7 separate regions of the Homo sapiens genome follow, and regions 1, 2, 4, 5, 6 and 7 are each linked to region 3. The links are contacts of gene promoters, found by promoter capture Hi-C in blood cells and fetal thymus (Javierre and others, 2016). All regions are on one chromosome and are shown on one strand. Each heading gives the region's core, a stretch centred on a gene start or on the middle of the fragment in contact. The rest is flanking DNA. Distances are from core to core; before and after follow the strand shown. Region 1 holds the start of KCTD14 (potassium channel tetramerization domain containing 14). Region 2 overlaps MYO7A (myosin VIIA). Region 3 holds the start of AQP11 (aquaporin 11). Region 4 overlaps MYO7A (myosin VIIA). Region 5 holds the start of OMP (olfactory marker protein). Region 6 overlaps MYO7A (myosin VIIA). Region 7 overlaps MYO7A (myosin VIIA).

What was found. The method cuts DNA at HindIII sites, captures the fragments that hold promoters and counts their contacts. A CHiCAGO score of 5 or more calls a contact.
Region 1: the fragment with the promoter of KCTD14 here is called in contact with the fragment with the promoter of AQP11 in region 3 in 1 of 17 cell types (non-activated CD4 T cells); the score reaches 5.0 in non-activated CD4 T cells.
Region 2: a fragment that was not itself captured here is called in contact with the fragment with the promoter of AQP11 in region 3 in 1 of 17 cell types (M2 macrophages); the score reaches 5.6 in M2 macrophages.
Region 4: a fragment that was not itself captured here is called in contact with the fragment with the promoter of AQP11 in region 3 in 1 of 17 cell types (M1 macrophages); the score reaches 5.4 in M1 macrophages.
Region 5: the fragment with the promoter of OMP here is called in contact with the fragment with the promoter of AQP11 in region 3 in 1 of 17 cell types (neutrophils); the score reaches 5.8 in neutrophils.
Region 6: a fragment that was not itself captured here is called in contact with the fragment with the promoter of AQP11 in region 3 in 2 of 17 cell types (M0 macrophages and endothelial precursors); the score reaches 6.4 in M0 macrophages.
Region 7: a contact is called between a fragment that was not itself captured here and the fragment with the promoter of AQP11 in region 3, in 1 of 17 cell types (neutrophils). The highest score is 6.5, in neutrophils.

Annotation. Positions count from the first base shown.
Region 1 is chr11:78,021,883-78,024,582 of GRCh38, forward strand. KCTD14 (potassium channel tetramerization domain containing 14) reads right to left here and starts at 1,394. Exons shown (of 2, transcript NM_023930.4): 1 at 1,278-1,394. The coding sequence starts at 1,367. The region is part of intron 2 of NDUFC2-KCTD14 (NDUFC2-KCTD14 readthrough); the gene reads right to left. It overlaps LOC124902723 (a long non-coding RNA gene), which reads left to right and starts at 661. Exons shown (of 2, transcript XR_007062795.1): 1 at 661-1,139; 2 at 1,652-1,840. RefSeq lists enhancers at 183-750, 751-1,320, 1,321-1,888. The HindIII fragment of the contact is 5,224 bases long and covers 1-2,700 here.
Region 2 is chr11:77,160,795-77,163,494 of GRCh38, forward strand. MYO7A (myosin VIIA) reads left to right here. Exons shown (of 49, transcript NM_000260.4): 12 at 179-321; 13 at 1,326-1,536; 14 at 2,059-2,194. Among named protein-coding and RNA genes, the nearest start is that of MYO7A, 34 kb to the left of the region's middle. The HindIII fragment of the contact is 5,899 bases long and covers 1-2,700 here.
Region 3 is chr11:77,588,512-77,591,211 of GRCh38, forward strand. AQP11 (aquaporin 11) reads left to right here and starts at 1,442. Exons shown (of 3, transcript NM_173039.3): 1 at 1,442-2,100. The coding sequence starts at 1,482. RefSeq lists a silencer at 789-1,418. The HindIII fragment of the contact is 3,851 bases long and covers 1-2,049 here.
Region 4 is chr11:77,200,292-77,203,029 of GRCh38, forward strand. It overlaps MYO7A (myosin VIIA), which reads left to right. Exons shown (of 49, transcript NM_000260.4): 36 at 1,157-1,347; 37 at 2,009-2,133. Among named protein-coding and RNA genes, the nearest start is that of MYO7A, 73 kb to the left of the region's middle. The HindIII fragment of the contact is 2,420 bases long and covers 52-2,471 here.
Region 5 is chr11:77,101,544-77,104,243 of GRCh38, forward strand. It overlaps OMP (olfactory marker protein), which reads left to right and starts at 1,297. Exons shown (of 1, transcript NM_006189.1): 1 at 1,297-1,788. The coding sequence starts at 1,297. The coding sequence ends at 1,788. The region is part of intron 3 of CAPN5 (calpain 5); the gene reads left to right. The HindIII fragment of the contact is 17,255 bases long and covers 1-2,700 here.
Region 6 is chr11:77,139,224-77,141,923 of GRCh38, forward strand. All of the region lies in intron 2 of MYO7A (myosin VIIA), which reads left to right. Among named protein-coding and RNA genes, the nearest start is that of MYO7A, 12 kb to the left of the region's middle. RefSeq lists an enhancer at 787-1,353. The HindIII fragment of the contact is 1,906 bases long and covers 435-2,340 here.
Region 7 is chr11:77,178,303-77,181,002 of GRCh38, forward strand. It overlaps MYO7A (myosin VIIA), which reads left to right. Exons shown (of 49, transcript NM_000260.4): 20 at 743-827; 21 at 1,433-1,651; 22 at 2,072-2,179. Among named protein-coding and RNA genes, the nearest start is that of MYO7A, 51 kb to the left of the region's middle. The HindIII fragment of the contact is 1,681 bases long and covers 440-2,120 here.

The DNA.
Region 1 (2,700 bases), core at 144-2,643, 430 kb after region 3:
GCCTGCTGCTCCCCACTCCTCCAATCCAGAGCTGGGCAAGCCCCCTCACCTCCAGAAGCTCACTCACTTGGCCATCCGCACTCCTTTCTCTGACCCCACTCATCCTTCAGATGAATTCCTCTGGGAGTCCTTCGGGGTGGGTTGTCTCACTGTGATCCCAGAAAGTCCTACACTACTATACTTCCACTGGCCTGGCAGTTCTTCCCTTGCAATTCCCTGTTTCTTCATTGACTGTGAGGTTCCTGGCCAAGTGCTGTGTTTCATGCCTGTAATCCCAGCACTTTGGGAGGCTGAGGTAGGAGGATTGCCTGAGCCTAAGAGTTTGAGACCAGCCTGGGTCTCACCAACATGGCGAGACCCCATCTCTATTTTAACAAACAAACAAACAAACAAAAACTCTGTGAGGCTCCTAAGGGAGGGGAATATCCTCTGATTTACAGGAGCATCTAGTATTCTGTTCAAGGCCAATCTTGCCCTACCTGGCATCATGCACAGTGCCTTACACTTCCCCAGTAATTCATTCAGGCATTTATGGAACACCTAGGGTGGTCCTGGCACTAGGCATGTGGCTTTGTCAATAGCCAACAACAATGACGTGATCATGGCCCTATTAGAGAGAGCCACGCTGCCCTGCTGCTGGATCTGCTTTCTCTTCCTCCAGGTCTTCAGGATGACTCTCAGTGCAGGAGAGAACCCGAATGTTCTGCTCCCAGAGTGCACGCAGCCTTTTCCCCATCCTCCTCCCCAACTCCCCTCACCCAAGCTGGGGACCAGGCAGGCAAGCAGAGGGATTTGGGACCCAGCCAGAGGGCAGGGGCAGGCTGAAGACCCAGCCAAGGGGCAGGGGCAGGCTGGAGAGGGCTGCAGGTGAGGGAAAGATCCTCTGGCCGAGCTGGTTGGATGGGCTTCTCCCACCGGGAGCAAGGGAGAAGGTGGGGCAGAGGAGGAGTCGTGGGCTAGGACAAGCCGGTGGGGAAGAGACAAGGGAAAGGAACTAAAGACCCAATGTAGAGGGAGGAAGCAAAAGGGCAAAGAGGAAAGGCTGGACAGAGCCAAACCAGAAAGGGACACCGAGGCGCGAAAGGAGAGTGATCCCAGCAGGAGGGACGGCAAAGATTGAAGAGAGCGACCAGCCCGAGGTGAAGGGGGACAGCGCGCCAGAAGCAGGGGGCTCGGGCGTCTGGGAGGGACGGGCAGGAGAAACTGGAAGGGAGGGAAGAGGCGGAGGGAAGAGGCGGAGGACAGAGGCGCGGGGACGCAGCTAGCCTCGCACTTACCGTTGGCCGCCTGGGCCGGGGGGACTGGGGCAGAGGGGTCTGGCTCGTCATCCTGCCCACTGGCCGCTCCACTGCGCAGCCCTGCCACATGCAGATCACTTGGGCCAGCGGAAGTGCCCCTGGCTGCCCGCCCCTAGGTGGGAACACCGAGGCTCAAGGCGGGACGGGGCTGAGCCAGGCGTGGCTTGCAGTGAGACTGGGCCAAGTGCAGAAAGAAATGGACAGTCTGTCTATTTGGGGCTTCTAAAAGTTGTTAGGCCCTGAGAAGGGCTGACTTTGGAGACCGAGAAATGGAGCAGACCCCTTAAGGACTGACCTTTTGATATAGATTAATTTCCTTCCTTTTCTTTCTTTCTTTCTTTTTTTTTTTTCAGAGACAGGGTCTCACTCTATCGCTCAGGCTGAAGTGCAGTGGCGGATCAGGCTCACTGCAACCTCAACCTCCTGGGCTCAAGTGATCCTCCCACCTCAGCCTCCCAAAGTGGTGGGATTACAGGCCTGAGCCACGGCAACTTGCCTCTTCCTATATTTTCTTTTACGCTTAAATAAATTACTTAAACATATTGCTTGAATCCCGTTATTAAAGTTGACATTAGTTAATGCCCCTCTCTGGGCCTCGGAGTTCCCAGTAGTGAAATGGGGGAGGCAGAAGGAATTGACATTGACTGACATTGACAACCAGAGACTTTCTATTCCCTACAGTCCTAGGGAGTGAAAGATCCGCAACACCCATTTTACAGATCAGAAAACTGGCGCTCTAGGAGGTAGGGTGGTGTTAAAATGTAAAGTCTGAGGATCAACAAAACTTTTTTAAGAGTATACTTGAGTAACAGGCAATTCTTGAATCGGGGAACACCAGATGGAAAGAGGTTGAGTGTTCCCATGACAATGCATCAGAGGCAAATATTTATGGGGAGAATATGGAAGCAAGATATTTTGTTGGGGACAGGCATGGTGGCTCACGCCTGTAATCCTAGCACTTTGGGAGGCCAAAGCGGACAGATCATTTGAGGTCAGAAGTTCGAGACCAGCCTGACCAAAATGGTGAAACCCCGTCTCTACTGAAAATACAAAAATTAGCTGGGTGTGATGGCATGTGCCTGTAATCCCAGATACTGTGGACGCTGAGGCAGGAGAATCGCTGGAACCCGGGAGGCAGAGATTGTAGTGAGCTAAGATTGCACCACTGAACTCCAGCCTGGGCAACAAAGATTCCCTCTCAAAAAAAAAAAAAAAAAATATATATATATATACACACACACACACACACACACACACACACACACATATATATATATATACATATATATATATAAAATTGGTTACAGTTAAAAAATCTCCTTTTTTGGTTTCCTTTGTTGAAAAGTCCACAGCTACTTAATTGTATGTTAGTTGGCTGCTTGTGGTTGGCTAATGTTAAGTT
Region 2 (2,700 bases), core at 22-2,521, 430 kb before region 3:
GTTCAAGCAGGAAAAGGGGTCTCCAGGCAGAGGGAACAGCTCAAGTAAAGGGTTGGGGGTTTCACACGGCACTTTGTTCCACACAAGGGCTGGAGCGACACCACGAAGGGTCCAGGAGCCTGGCCTGTCCCCCGGGGGAGGGTGTGGCTGGTGCCAGTGGCTGATCACTGCCTTTCAGGGGATCTACGGGCGGCTGTTCGTGTGGATTGTGGACAAGATCAACGCAGCAATTTACAAGCCTCCCTCCCAGGATGTGAAGAACTCTCGCAGGTCCATCGGCCTCCTGGACATCTTTGGGTTTGAGAACTTTGCTGTGAACAGGTACCGCGTGGGGCTCTGCTCATGGGAATTTCCTTCCCCAATATGGAAATAAGAAATATCACGTCTCTCCCTTGCGAAGCACATTTAGTTGGCTCCTGGCACACTCTGCCAGGCTGTTCCGTCATCACGGTGGACCCTCTCCCTTTCCTTCCCATCCCCTCGTGTCCCTCACCTCCTCAAGGTCAGCTGAGCCTGGCTGGGGTTGTCAGGAGGCTGTACGCATCCTGAACACTTGGGGAGGAAACCTCTGGTCTCCAGGACCCACTGGCCACTGCCGATCTGCCCAGATCCATGCTGCAAGGCGCCTCAAAGCAGGGAGGCCAGGCCTGTGCCACGCTTGTGTTGGGGTCTCCGCCACCCTTGGGATTCTGTGCCTTTTAGGGGCCGTGTGAGGGACTGATGGGTGGTGTCACATACAGGCGGGTCCTGGAGCCCCACTTCCTGCTGGAAAGTCAGGACCTGGCAAGTCATATCAGTTCCCTTGCTGTTTGGATGTCTCAAAGCCCTCCAGCACCAAAACACCCACACTCAACATACTGGGCTGTGTCCGTGGCTCGGCCATGTCTGCAGCCAGGGCTCTGTTTCCCAAGTCTTGTCAACCCCCTTCCCACCTCCCAAGGCCACTTTTGATGTCCCTGTATGGCCCACCAGCCAGCCTCTGGGGTCTTTCTCTCCCAGGCATCTGCCTGGGGTTTGGGTGCCCACCTGCCAATCCCCAGCCCTCCCCAGGGCTTGATCATGCCAGGGAAAGAGTCCTGAAAAGCCTTAGCTCTCCTTCTGGCTCACAGAGTGACCCTAGGCAAGTCCTTTGCCCTTGCTGGGCCTCCGTGTCCTCCTCTGCACCTGGAGGGAGGTGGACTTGACAATTCCCCTCGCCTCTGAGTTTGGAGTCCATGATGGGGATAGCTTGCTAATGGCCATGCTGCAGGTGGAGGCAGAGCCAGGCCCTGAACAGCATGGTGGGGCCTGAACAACACCCTTACCCCATCCCTGTGCCCCTGCAGCTTTGAGCAGCTCTGCATCAACTTCGCCAATGAGCACCTGCAGCAGTTCTTTGTGCGGCACGTGTTCAAGCTGGAGCAGGAGGAATATGACCTGGAGAGCATTGACTGGCTGCACATCGAGTTCACTGACAACCAGGATGCCCTGGACATGATTGCCAACAAGCCCATGAACATCATCTCCCTCATCGATGAGGAGAGCAAGTTCCCCAAGGTGGGCCGGTCCTGCTGCCGCCTCCCAGGGTCTTGGGTGCGCACAGCTTCCTTCCCTGCTTTGAGCCCCGGCTTTCCTCATCTGCAAAATAGGACTAATGATACCCACCTCTCAAGTTGGCTCAGGGGCCAATTCAAGTATAGGCATCTGCCATTTGGGAATCACCTACAGTCCATGGGGTTCTGGGCCAGGCCATGAAGATCCATGCATGCAGTTGGCATGGAATGGGTACTCAGGACACAGTGTATATCTCAGAGTTGGGGAGGGGGAGAGGGGATTGCACCCATGATTTTAATCTTGGGAAATCGATTGTCTAAACTGGAATGCACTTTCAAAGTTGTGTAGTTCCAATTCATCCACTTAACAGATGGGGAAATGGGGTTCCAGAGAGCGCCTATGTGAGGTAGAAATAAAAGGAGGGGAAGCTCCTGAAGAAGAGACAGGGGGCAAAGACATGGGCAGGGAGGGGAGTGGGGCCCATGGAGGAGAGGGTGGGCTCACAGCTGCCCCTCCACTCCCCAGGGCACAGACACCACCATGTTACACAAGCTGAACTCCCAGCACAAGCTCAACGCCAACTACATCCCCCCCAAGAACAACCATGAGACCCAGTTTGGCATCAACCATTTTGCAGGCATCGTCTACTATGAGACCCAAGGTACAGAGGGCTGCCGGCTGTCTGTCACTCCCTGCCCGTGGCCCTGCCTTCCCCTGCTCCAGCCCAGGAATAAGATATCCGGAATTTTAAAGATTTTTAAAAATTGTGATTATTCATATATATATATATATGAACTTGACTAAAATGGCCAAGTGTTGGATTCAGTGGCACTAAGTACTTCACAGTGCTGTGCATCCAGTACTGCTATCTATTTCCAGGGCTTTCTCACCGCCCCAAACAGAGGCTCTGCAAGCATGGGGCAGTAACTCCTTCCCCTACCCCCGGCCCCCTGTAACCTGTGTTCTACTTTCTGTCTGTGAGTTTGACTATTCTAGGTACCTCATATAAGTGGAATCATATGCTATGGCCATACATCGTTTAACGTCATTTCTGAGAATGTGTCGTTAGGCAATTTGGTCATTGTCAATCATTGTAGAGTGTAGTTATACACCTAGATGGTCCAGCCTACTACATAGCTAGGTTATCTGGTATGGCCTATTGCCCTC
Region 3 (2,700 bases), core at 192-2,691:
TACAATGGCGCGATCTAGGCTCACCACAACCTCTGCCTCCCGGGTTCAAGCGATTCTCCTGCATCATCCTCCCGAGTAGCTGGGATGACAGGCATGCGCCACCATGCCCGGCTAATTTTGTATTTTTAGTAGAGACGGGGGTTTCTCATGTTGGTCAGGCTAGTCTCGAACTCCCGACCTCCGGTGATCCGCCCGCCTCGGCCTCCCAAAGTGCTGGGATTATAGGCGTGAGCCACCGCGCCCAGCCGCGCCCGGTTTTTGTTGTTGTTTTTGTTTCTAAAAACAGCGTCTCGCTCTGTGGCCCAGGCAGGGGTGCAGTGGCGCGATCTCAGCTCACTGCAGCCTGGAACTCCTGGGGTCAAGCGGTCTTCCCACCTAAGCCTCTCCGTGCTGGGACTCCGGACGCGCTCCACCTCACGCAGCCGTATTCCTGCTTTCAAAGCAGATGGAAGAGGTGCGCCAGGACCCCCAGTTCTTGGAAACAGACCTCTCCAGTTACCTGTTGTTTCCTCTTCACGAAGAGTGCATGTAACAGTAAGACACAACTGTTTCATATTATACGTAAAGAGTTCATGCCAAAGGTTATAGACAGTCACATGCTAAAACTAGGCTACACTTTGAAGAATCACCGCTCAAGTTCTGGAAAAAAGAGGTGACTGTTGAACAACACTGTGAGGGTAATCGATGCCACTGAAATATACACTTAAATTGATTAAAGTGGCGAATTTTATCTGGCATATATTACCACCATTTTTAGAAATGTTTTTTGGCAGGTGAAGAAAAGCAAGGCTCCAGGAGGCCCTGCGCACCGGTCTACGCCCACTAACTCACCCGCCCCCTGCGCCGCGTCTCCCCTCTCAATTTCAGTCGCCCATTGATAAAAACGAGGTGGCTATGTGAGATGGCCTTCAGCGGTCTTTCCAGCTCCACGGTTTTACAGTGTGGAGCGGGGAAAGAAAAACTCTAAGGTCCTCGCTGCAAAGCAACCATCAGAGCTCCGCCGCGCCGTGCCGCTCCTCTCCGCCCCGTGGTCCGGGTGTCACCGCCCGCAGGGGCGCAAGGGCCGCAGCACGCGTGCGCAGTGGGCACCAAGAGCGCTGCGTCGACCGCGCCGCGCCGGCCCTCCGCCGCCGCGCCCGCCTACAAGGCCCTGAGGGAGACTGCGGAGGGTGAGTGCGCGGTGGGCTCGGCTGACCGTTGGCCCTGCGGCCGGCGCCCTAGGCTACCTCCCTTCGCCTCCCCGCGCCTCCCCGCGCCTCCCCGCCTCCCCGCCTCCCCGCCTCCTCGGCTCTGGTTCCAACACCCCAGCGCCAAGCCGGGGAGGCGGGGAGGACTTCTTAAGTGTGCCGCTCGGGAGCCTCCCGCTCGTCCCGCCCCGAGGGGCGTGAGGAGGGGAGGGGCTGCGGACTTCGGACTCGGGCCTGGAGACCGCCTCCTACCCAGAGCCGGAGCCCGCAACCCGCTCAGGCGGCGACGGAGCCATGTCGCCGCTGCTGGGGCTCCGGTCCGAGCTGCAGGACACCTGCACCTCGCTGGGACTGATGCTGTCGGTGGTGCTGCTCATGGGGCTGGCCCGCGTAGTCGCCCGGCAGCAGCTGCACAGGCCGGTGGCCCACGCCTTCGTCCTGGAGTTTCTAGCCACCTTCCAGCTCTGCTGCTGCACCCACGAGCTGCAACTGCTGAGCGAACAGCACCCCGCGCACCCCACCTGGACGCTGACGCTCGTCTACTTCTTCTCGCTTGTGCATGGCCTGACTCTGGTGGGCACGTCCAGCAACCCGTGCGGCGTGATGATGCAGATGATGCTGGGGGGCATGTCCCCCGAGACGGGTGCGGTGAGGCTATTGGCTCAGCTGGTTAGTGCCCTGTGCAGCAGGTACTGCACAAGCGCCTTGTGGAGCTTGGGTCTGACCCAGTATCACGTCAGCGAGAGGAGCTTCGCTTGCAAGAATCCCATCCGAGTCGACTTGCTCAAAGCGGTCATCACAGAGGCCGTCTGCTCCTTTCTCTTCCACAGCGCTCTGCTGCACTTCCAGGAAGTCCGAACCAAGCTTCGTATCCACCTGCTGGCTGCACTCATCACCTTTTTGGTCTATGCAGGTTTGTCATTCTCACCAAATACTTGGCACTTCCAGAGCCTCTATGACATGAGGCTGTAAGTTCTTTACTAAAATACATTTGAAACCGTCTATCCCGCTATGATGTAAATGCTGGTATCCCCGTTATTCTAACCATTTTGCAGCCCGTTCTTAACCAGTAGGGCCGACACGTAGAGCCTTCATGCAGTGCTGCTTTGAACACCCAGAGAAAGGAGCCACCTCTGTGCTGAAACTGAGATACTGTGAGATATTGCCAAGGGTTCAGATATCCTACAAAGGGATTGTTTTAATGGTAGAAAGGAAAGATAACTTATTAACTGCCTCTTTCTTCATGCCAAGGTGGTATAGATCGTTTCGGATACTCTTACTGAAAAATGATCCTGGCTTTACAAAGTTCCTTTCGATTTAAAGCACAAGGCACATGATTGGTTAGTATAAGAGCGGAGGGTAGAAATTTTGTAGTTCCATTTTAGTCCTATAAATGATTTAAAGTCATTTCTTATTTCCTTAATAATTCATTTTGAGTTATGAAATTTCTTATTTCCTTAATAATTCATTTTGAGTTATACATGAACTTTTAAGTGACCTATTAAGAAAAATG
Region 4 (2,738 bases), core at 12-2,511, 390 kb before region 3:
CAAAGAGAAAAAAGATGGCACCAGCATCTGCTTCTGATGAAGGCCCCAGGAAGCTTCCACTCATGGCAGAAGGAGAAGGGGTGCCTGCATCAGAAGGAAGGAAGAGAGCAGGGGGTGCCAGGCTCTTTTTAAACAATCAGTTCTCACAGAGACTATATAGAGTGAGAACTCACTCATTACCGTGAGCACGGCACCACACTGTTCATGAGGGACCCACTCCCATGACCCAAACACCTCACACTAGGCCACTGCCAACACTGGGAGATCAAGTTTCAACAGAGAGATTTGGAGGGGACAAATATCTAAACCATATCACAGACCATGCCCCGTGGCCTTGGCCTTGGCACTCAAGGCTGCTAGGATCTTGTTCCCATCTTTCCCCTGAAGCTAGACCAAATAGCAGAAGCCTGTGCCTTTAATCTGTAGCCTGTGGGGAACCTCTTCTCCCTCCCTTCTTCTGGCTCTTCAATACTCATCTCCTGTCAGCTCTCCAAGTTAGATCAGGGTCCTCCTCAGTGTTCCCAAAAGACCCACCATCTTCAAGTGATAACAGCAGTAACAACTACTCTGCCTGAGGCTACCGAGGCCCTGGCCAAGTGTGGGAAAGACAAAGATGAAATGGACCCCACCCTGTCCTCAGTGGGGAGGGGGGTGGGAAGAAGACAGTGACAGGCCTGTGACAGTGCAGTGAGCAGGGAAGCCCAGAGCCACAGGAGCCCAGAGGAGAGGCCCCATGCCGACTGGGGTCCAGGGAGGAAGCCCGTGTGACCAGAGCACAGGGGGCAGAGAGCTAAGCGTGATGCCAGCACAGAGGCGGGAGAAAGCTGGCCTGTCCAGGGAACTGCGAACAGCTTGGTTTGGCTGGGAACAGGCACAGTGAGGGAGGAGAGGCGAGGTGGAAGGAGTCTGGGAGGCCCGCTCACAACAGGCCCAGGAGTGTGGGGCTTCCTCCCAAGGGCAATGAGGAGCCGTGGAAGGCTTTTGAGCAGGAGAGTAGCCCACTCTGGTGATGGTCTCTGTATGGAGAGTTGTGACAAGGTGGAGGCAGAGTGGCAAGTGGGCAGACATGAGTGATAACACCTCAGTTCTTCTGTGGGAAGATGTTCCAACTCAGCCTGTCTCTGCCCCCATGGTCCCACTCACCTCTGCTCTACAGCAGGCGAGGAGTCAGGCTTCCTCAGCTTTGCCAAGGGAGACCTCATCATCCTGGACCATGACACGGGCGAGCAGGTCATGAACTCGGGCTGGGCCAACGGCATCAATGAGAGGACCAAGCAGCGTGGGGACTTCCCCACCGACAGTGTGTACGTCATGCCCACTGTCACCATGCCACCGCGGGAGATTGTGGTATGTGGCCTGGGGGTGGCAGATGGGTGGGAGGTGCCATTAGACCCCTCTTTGTCCACTTCCCACAGCTGTACAATAGGTTAACGGTCTAGTGCATCTGTGAAGATGATCTTGGGATCTTATGGGACACACATTTAAAGTTGGGGCAGTGCTCAAACCTGTGCCAGGTGGGGAGGGGCCTAGAAATGGCATCAGATGAGGAACTGCCAAGGGGTGGGGCCGGGGGTGGGGATTGGAGAGAGGTGTATCACCCGCACTGTCTGAACAGGCAGTGGGGGCACAGCTGGGAAGGGGGCCCTGCTTCTTCTGGAGCCCCCTTGAGAGCAGCTCTGAGGACTCACAGCCCAGCTTCCCTAGTGGCTCCTGAGCCAGGCTCAGTGGACGAGGCAGCTCTCATACCATGTCCCGCTGCCTTGTCCAGGCTTTCTGACTGACCCAACCTGATCAGACACCTGGGGAAGGGCCCTGAGCTCAGCACAAAGGAGGCAGCAGGGACCTCAGAGACCCCAAGGAGGAACGGGGCTCCCAGGGTCAGAATGGGGCATGGGGTCCATACCCCTGAAGAGTCTCCCAGAGTCCAGAAGGCTTCAGGGTATACCATGTTGATCCTGGTGGCCACAGGTAGAGAGCTGACCTGAGCCCCCTGTCTCTTGGTCCCTAGGCCCTGGTCACCATGACTCCCGATCAGAGGCAGGACGTTGTCCGGCTCTTGCAGCTGCGAACGGCGGAGCCCGAGGTGCGTGCCAAGCCCTACACGCTGGAGGAGTTTTCCTATGACTACTTCAGGTGATGCCTCCTGGGGAAGGATGGGAGCCACAGGGCTAGGAGCTGCAGGCTTCCGCTACTGTCTGGTCGTGTGCTGGGGCTGCTTTGTGAAGCCCCCACCTGTGAGCAGGGCCTGGGTCAGAGGGAGCTGGAGGGCTGTTTCTGTCTGCCAGGATGACCCGTCCTATGTGTCTCATCTTATCTTCCTTCCTTCAAGAGATGTCACTGCACCCACCCCAGGCTGGGCATTCGAGACTGAGTCCTGGTGGGGATGCGGGCTGGAAGCAGGCAGCTGGGATTCGGCGTGCCCAGCACTGTGATGAGGATGCTTCTGGGGCGGGGGGTGGGGGGCAGTGAGAAGCTTCCTGATGGAGGCGTTGTGCACTGAGCTCTACAGGGGGCGCAGGGTGGTGGGGGAGGCTGGGGCACAGCCCGTGGTGTTCTCGCCGCTGGGGTTTCACAGCTGAGAAAGAAAGGCCCAGTGACTGCCAGTGACTCGCCTCGGGTCACATGCAGGGCAGGGAAGAGCAGGGCCTGGTGCCCACTCTCAGCCTCTGGACACAGGGATGGGTGGGGGTGGGGGTCTCACAACCTGGGGGTTTCTCCCCGGGGCTGCCAGCGATGGG
Region 5 (2,700 bases), core at 47-2,546, 490 kb before region 3:
CAGGACCGGGTATTCTGTCTCCCTTGGTGCCCCTCTGCTGTTCAGGTAGCCCAGGATCCCACTGATTGATTAGCCACCATCTCACAATTGACCGTGCTTGTGGTCCACTAGACCCTTCAGATTGTTTTCCGTTGTGATACCTTGGCCTTGACTCTGTCCTCTTTTCTGTGTGTGGCGTGTTGTGGCGACGGCCGCTCCCCAACTCCCATCCCCACTCTCTCCCCAACTCCGGCTCCACTCACACTCCAGTTCTTTCATTTCCCCAGTATAAAGGCTGAGCTTCTGGTTCCGCCCCGGGCCCTGGGGATATAAACATTTGCCAGATTCTTCCTCGGCCCCTGGGGGAAACTGAGGATTAATTCAGGTGGAGTAAGTGGTGGGATTTGGGTAGAAGTGAAGCCTTGTCCTGTTGTGGCCATGGTGCAGGGCTGCGGCACAGCCAGCCATCAGTGTCATCCGGGTCAGTAATGCTCAAGGCACAGTCCCTGGCCCAGCAGCATGTCACCTGGGAGGTGGTTAGGAATGCAGATTCTCAGGCCCACAGAGCCCTGATAAACCAGGAGTTCTGGGAGGGGGTCCAGCAATCTGTGTGTTAAGTCCTGAGAGTGAGTCTGATGCTCACTCAAGTCTTGAGAACCACGGGTCTGGGTGAGAGATACGGTAGCTGGGCTGAGATCCTGTCAATGGGACTGGAGGGGAAGGGTCCCGGGGTGTTTGGGAAGCAGAATCGACAGGCTTTGGTGATTGGGTGTGGAGGAGTGAGAGGGAGGCGGGCGTCAGGGGTAGCTCCAAGGTTTAACTTAGGTGACTTCAGATCTCCAATCACCAAGCCCTCTCTGGTCCTGCCTTCTCCACCTGCTCCTGCGGGTCTTGCATCTTCTCCTGTGTACCTCCAGTGAGGAGTGGTCCCCACCACCCTCCCCATCAGTGCACTTACGAAGTGCTCTCATCTTCACAAACAAGCCAGCACCCAGCCCAGCCCTGGTAGTCAGGGCGGTTGCCACAGCAATTGACATCAGCGACCTGGTCCCCAAGGAACCTGCCACCTTCCGCCTGCCTGCAGGGCCTGCATTATCGCTTCTGCGGGGACTGGAGTGGAGGCAGATGGGGACTCCCACCCCTGACACACACCCCATTTTGAGAACTGAGTGGGGCTGGGAAGAGCCAGTGGCAAAGGGAGGGGAAGAGGGAAGGGCAGAAAGTAGGTGGGGCCCCCCTTTGGTGGCCTCTTCTCTCCACGGCCCCAGGCTCCAGCCCACTTGGGTCCTTGGCGTTGGTGGCAGCAGCACTTGGGCCATGGCGGAGGACAGGCCGCAGCAGCCGCAGCTGGACATGCCGCTGGTCCTGGACCAGGGCCTGACCAGGCAGATGCGGCTACGCGTGGAGAGCCTGAAGCAGCGCGGGGAGAAGCGCCAGGATGGGGAGAAGCTGCTGCAGCCAGCGGAGTCTGTGTACCGCCTCAACTTCACCCAGCAGCAGCGGCTACAGTTCGAGCGCTGGAATGTCGTGCTGGACAAGCCGGGCAAGGTCACCATCACAGGCACCTCGCAGAACTGGACGCCTGACCTCACCAACCTCATGACACGCCAGCTGCTGGACCCCACTGCCATCTTCTGGCGCAAGGAGGACTCGGATGCCATAGATTGGAATGAGGCCGACGCCCTGGAGTTTGGGGAGCGCCTGTCGGACCTGGCCAAGATCCGCAAGGTCATGTACTTCCTCGTCACCTTTGGCGAGGGTGTGGAGCCCGCCAACCTCAAGGCCTCCGTGGTTTTTAACCAGCTCTGACAGCAGCTGCCAGCTGCTGCTCTCCTCTAGCCCACCTGTGCTCTCCCCTGCCCCTGCCACTTTCCCCCCTGTATTTTTGGGGCCATTATTCTCGCTGCTCAGCCTGTCCTCTGCTTGCCCAGAGGCCCCCTGAGTCCCACACCTTTCCTCCTCTGCTTCTCCCTGGGGCCAGCACTCCAGCTCACAGGAAGAAGATTCTGAGGCTCCATAGCCTAGAAGCTGGACTGGCTGCTGCATTGCTATAGACGATAGAGGCCTACTAGGGGCCAGTGTGCATGGACAGTGAGGCCAGGGCCATCTGCCTTCTCTCTGCTTCATTGTGGGAGAGAGAGACTGAGAAAGACCAAGAGAGACACAGAGACAGAGATTGAAAAACCCAGCATCCACTTCCTCCAGAGTCAGGGAGACAGAGATGATGGGGCGTCTCCACGGGGAGTCCAGCAAGCCGGCATTCACTGCTCCCTGGCCTTGGTGCCCTTTGCCGGAGCCTGTGTCTGGGCTGCTGGTCCCATAACACGTCGACAACCCTCAGGATATGGGGCAGGGTTGCTGCAGGGGTGGATTTGGGCAGTGGAGAGTGGCTGGCACCCTGGAGGCTGTGTAGGCCCAGCTGTGGCTCTTCTGGGCCTGACTTCAGGGTGGAGAAGTGAAGGGGGAGGTTACACAGAGATCTGTCTCTACGCACACATATCCATGAGACAGAGTGTGCTGTATTCATATGGATGTATTCTAGAGGTCTATTCCTACCCTAGGAACAAGTGCAGTTTTAGATTATCTGTTCATCATTGCTGCTGGTTCAAGGATGGCTCTTAACAGGGGCCTGGTCCGGATGACCTTGGCCTGGGGGCTTGCTGAGCTAGGAGACTGCAGTTCAGATAGTGAAACAGGGAGTGGATTAGTAAAGGGGGTTCC
Region 6 (2,700 bases), core at 138-2,637, 450 kb before region 3:
TCCTATGTGTTCACTGTGGATATGTGCTGGCTTTCCTGGGGGGAGGCCCCACAGGGGTTTTGGAGTACCCCTGAGAACATTCGAACAGACCCATTCTAGGAAGGCACGACTCGGGCTGGGAGCCTGCATAGCTGGCAGGGCCTGGGAAACCCTCTGCCCTGGTCATATATTTGATAGGAGAAAAGCTGGGACTTGCCCCACGTTACACAGCCACACTGAGGCATGTGTCGTGTCACAAACGAGATCTTCCATTCAAGGTGAGTACCAAGCAAGGCGCCCCATACAGTGTGTAAAGTTGTCACGGAACATGGTGTAGGAATGGGGCCAGATGCAGTGGTGGGGTGCCTGGGGCTAGCCATGGGGATGGGAGGGGGTGGTGGGGTCCTACCTGGAGCCTGGTTCCCCATTCTCACCTCCCTCCTGCCTCTCAATGAAGCTTCATCTTCTTTCATGGCTTCCTTCCTCCCTTCCTTCTCCCTCTGAGCCAGTGACTCCTGATCCACCCTGATTTTGGTCCTGGCTCTGTCCTCCAGATGCTAATAGTCCTGTCAGTCACTGATTTGATGAGTGACTGTGGCCAGGTTCCTTTCTCTCTTTGGCCCTCAGTTTCCTCGGCTGTAAAATGAGGATCCTTACAACCTGCCTGCCTTGCGATGCTTCAAGAACTTTCCCTAGGGCCACAGGAATATTCCCCTTCAGAAGTCCTAAGACCCCAGAATTCTCCCTGAAGCCTCTCCCCTGCCATCTGAAACTGTTTCCTCAAGTCTGGCCTAGAGCAAGATAGTTTGGTCACTGCCCTCTGTGACAGCCCTAAGTAAGAAGAGTTGTAGTCATGTCTGTTTGCTGTGTGGCCCCAAGAGCTTCACTCAGCCTCTCGGAATCTCCATTTCCTGCTCACATGAAGTTTTTTTTATTTTGGTTATTTTATCTTCTCCCAGGGGAAACAAACATTTTCTGTGTGCCAGGCCCTGTGCTGGGTTGAGGGATACAGGTGACTCAGAGAGACCCCTGCCTTCCAGCTGCCCTCAGCCTAAGTCTCCAGCTTGCCTTCAGGGCCCTTGAGCCATCTGGGCGGGGGAGGACTCTATCAGTGTTTCCTGTTTTGCTCAGTGAGCTGCATGTGGGACTGGGCCCAGGGAATGTCAGGAAAGAGCCCTGGATTTGGGGTTTGTCAGACCTGGGCTTCAGTCCTGGCTCTGCCACAAAACAGCTGTGTGACCTTGGGCACGTTTCTTGACCTCTTTGAGGAGAGAAATTGGAGACAGTCCCCTGGCCACATGCTGTTGCCCACAAGCGAACACGCTCCCCACCCCTTCTCTCTCACCGAGGCCCGCTCTGGGCTGGGCTCTGGGGAGCCACAGATGAGGGACTCAGACCCAGCCCCACCCTAGGGAGCTCCAGGCCAGTGGGGAAGGGGAGCAGACCCTGTGTGGGGTGGCTGTCAGGGGTAAGCCCAGGGTCAGGGAGTGCAGCTGGGGCTTGGACACAAGCAGCTGTGAGGATTATATGGGGCAGTTTACGGGATGCAGCCTGTGGAGCCCAGGCCCACAGTGAATGCTCAGTAAACAGTTCTCTTCCACGCCCAAGCCTCTCCAATTTTTCTTACTTTTTCTGGGAGGAAGTTTGGGTTTGGGACTAGCCTGACTCTATCATGTGCCAACCTCCCATTCACATGAAGAGAGGGTCCACAGGGGCAGCTGTGGCTGGAAAATAGCACATAGATGGCAGTGGTCCCATAAGACTATAATGCCATATTTTACTGTACCTTTTATGTGTATGTTTAGATATGTTTACATACACAAATACACACTATGGATTATGACTGCCTATAGTATTCAGTACAGTAGCAGGTTGTACAGGTTTGTAGTGTAGGAGCAAGAGGCTACCCCATCCAGCCTAGGTGTGTAGTGGGCTGTACCATCTAGGTTTGTGAAGTACACTCGATGACTTCATATGTTTGCATAGAACTTATCTCTGACATTAACAATGCATGACTGTAGCTGGTTCTGATGGGAACAAGAGGAGGCTGAAACAGTAATGAGTTGGTCTTGGACTCACTGAGTTCAGCCTTCACTGAGAAATGTGGAAATTGAGGCTCAGAGAGGTCAGCGACTCACCCAAGGCCGGGTAGGGCCTGAAACCCAGTCTTCTGACTCCTAGCCCAGAACAGATTCTGTCAGACCATTACCACGGTTTACTTCATTGTGAATCAGTTTTATAAGTTGTTACATTTTTTTTTACTTGATATTAAGTTATATTCTTATTAGAATGTCCCAACTCCTAGGGAGTTGGAGTACCACCCAAAAAAGAATACTTTTATTAGGATTAGAATAAAATCTAAGCTTGTATCCCAAGGCCAGCAAAGGGCCTATGTGTCCTGGACCCTGCCTACTTCTCTGAGCTCCCTCTCGCCCATCAGGTCCTACCTCCTGGCTGTTCCTTTCTGCCGCAGGGCCTTTGCATGTGCTGTTTCCTATGCTGGGATTACTGTCCCCTGCTTTTCCCTTGGCTGACTGCTTGTCACCCTTCAGGTGTCAGCTCAGCGATTCCCTCCATGGAGCGGCTCCATTGGCTACTGGGTCTAGGTTGGTTGGCTCTGTCATTCTCCACCATTGGCTTGTTTGTTTCCTTGACAGCACTCACCAGTATCCAAAGTGATCGTGCTGATCTATTTGCTCAGTTTTTTGTCACCACCTCTAA
Region 7 (2,700 bases), core at 30-2,529, 410 kb before region 3:
ATTCATCCATCAATTCACCCACCAACCCATCCACCATCCATCCATCCACCCACCCACCCATCCATTCACTCATCAGTCCACCCACCCATCCACCTACCCATTCATTCCTCCATTCATCCATTCACCCACCCACTCCCACAGTTGCTCATTTGCTTATGTGTGTCTCCAAGCATTGACTTATTGGCTCACTTGCATACTTGCACACCCATCCTTCGCTCTTCCTTTATTTATTTCTACATTCAGCAGACCCCTGCTGTCTGTGCATGGTCTCTGTCCTCTATCAGGCTGAAGATGACTGTTCTCCTATAGAAGCAGCCTGCTGTGTGCAGGGGGAACAGCACTGGGCTCACTTAGGGTCAGTCAGAAGACATGGGCTCTAGTCCCAACCTATCAAGTCTCAGTTGCCTCATGTATAAACTGAGGAAGTTAGACTGTTCAAAGCTTTTGATCTTTATATTATTTTAATTACTTATTTTTTCATACATTTATTCATTCAACAAATACCTTTTGAATGTCTACCTTCATGGGCTTATGTGACAGGCCTGTGGGGCAGGCAGGGCAGGCATTATTCTACACATTGTACGGATGAGGAAGCTGAGGCACAGAAGTTATGTGCCTTGCCCAAGGTCATATAGCTAGGAAGTCACAGAGCTGGGACTCAGCGTGCCCTCCTGATCCCAAACCCACCTGTACCCTGGCTGCCTCTGGACACTGCTCACCCGCGCCACTACTGCTGTTTCAGGTCTAACTTTCTGAAGCTGAAGAACGCTGCCACACTGATCCAGAGGCACTGGCGGGGTCACAACTGTAGGAAGAACTACGGGCTGGTGAGCCTCCCCATGGGCTGCTCTTGCCCAAACAGGCCTTTGAACCCAGCCTTGCTGCCATGGCAGTGGGACTGGCCTGCACCCAGGCAGCACAGCCTGGCCTCGTTGGCCTCCTGCCACTGCCCTGGCCAGCCACTACCATTCCTCCAGACCGAAGTCTGGATCTGGCTCTTGTGGCTTCTTCCAACTGGCCAGCAATGTTTGTTGCTCTCCTTCTGGAGTGTTTTTGGGGGTTGGGAGCACTCTGGGATTATTAGAGATCTCAGACAGGGTGAGAGTGGCTGGGTCACATGGACCTCTGTGCAGCAGCTGGGCTTAGGACTTGTTGGGGCTGGATGGGAAGCAGACTGGTTGGTTGCAGCTCCTGATCTAGGATTCTCTTGGGGGCCCCAACTCAGGGAGAGTCAAGGTCACCTAAAAATATGTTGCCTGAGAGGAAACAGAACTTTCTAACGATGGGGGGGCACTAATCTGAGAGGAGACTGGGCCACGCCTTCTGGGGGTGCCTGTCTGAGAGTGGAGGCCGGTGCCATGGAAGCTCCTGCAGGCAGGGTCAGTCTGGAATGGGACAGCAGGCTCTGAGCATGGGGTGGCTGTCCTTGCAGATGCGTCTGGGCTTCCTGCGGCTGCAGGCCCTGCACCGCTCCCGGAAGCTGCACCAGCAGTACCGCCTGGCCCGCCAGCGCATCATCCAGTTCCAGGCCCGCTGCCGCGCCTATCTGGTGCGCAAGGCCTTCCGCCACCGCCTCTGGGCTGTGCTCACCGTGCAGGCCTATGCCCGGGGCATGATCGCCCGCAGGCTGCACCAACGCCTCAGGGCTGAGGTGAGGGAGCAAGTCCATAGCACCCACAGCTCTGACCCCTGGGCGAGGAGTGTCCATGCATCACCCTCAGGTGTTGGCCAGGAAGTGGGACCTATAGGGGGGACCTGCAGTTATGCCTGCTCTGAGGAGTGCACATACCTGGGACCAGACCCTCATTTCCATCCTCTCAGCCAAGGGCAGGGCTGGGACCTCAGTCACTCTTGGGAATCTCTGGGAGACCGACGCAGATCTGGCCGGGCTTTAGGATCAGTGGTGCCTCCAGCCCGCTGGGTGACCTAGAGAATTTCTTGATTACCTCACTTGTCCTATCAAAGTCATGCCCAGTTCCAGAACTCAGAGTTGGGTGGGTGGAGCTGGTGGGAATCCCTGCAACAACAGCTACACACATTTCCATGCCCTCTGGATGCCCCCTTCCCTCAGTATCTGTGGCGCCTCGAGGCTGAGAAAATGCGGCTGGCGGAGGAAGAGAAGCTTCGGAAGGAGATGAGCGCCAAGAAGGCCAAGGAGGAGGCCGAGCGCAAGCATCAGGTGAGCTGAGAGCCTCCAGGCACCTTAGGTGTCCACTTGCTGGCTTGTCCCCTCCCCGAGGCTGGCTTCTCATCTGTCACCCGGTGCTGCAGCCTTCCTTCCATCCTTCAGAATGGCCACACTAGACCCACTCAGCCAGCATTGCCTGAGCTCTCGCTGGGCACCTGGTCCTGTGCCATGCAAAAGGATGAAGGGCTGTGGTGGCTCCAGAGGAAGAGGCCCAGGCCCTCAGCAGCCCCTTTCTAGTTGTTGAGATAACACCCTGGTAAAAGCACAAGCCAGCTGACGGCACGAGGGTGCTACACTGCCCAATAGAGAGCCACCAGCCACAGTGGCAACTGAACACTTGCAGTGTGGCCTGTCCGAATGACACAGTGCTTTAAGTGTGAAATACTAGATTTTGAAGATTTGGTGGGGGAAAAATGAATATAAAATATCTCAGTATTATTTTTATAATATGGATTACATGCTAAGTTAATATTTGGGAAATATTGAGTTAAATATACTGCTAAGACTAATCC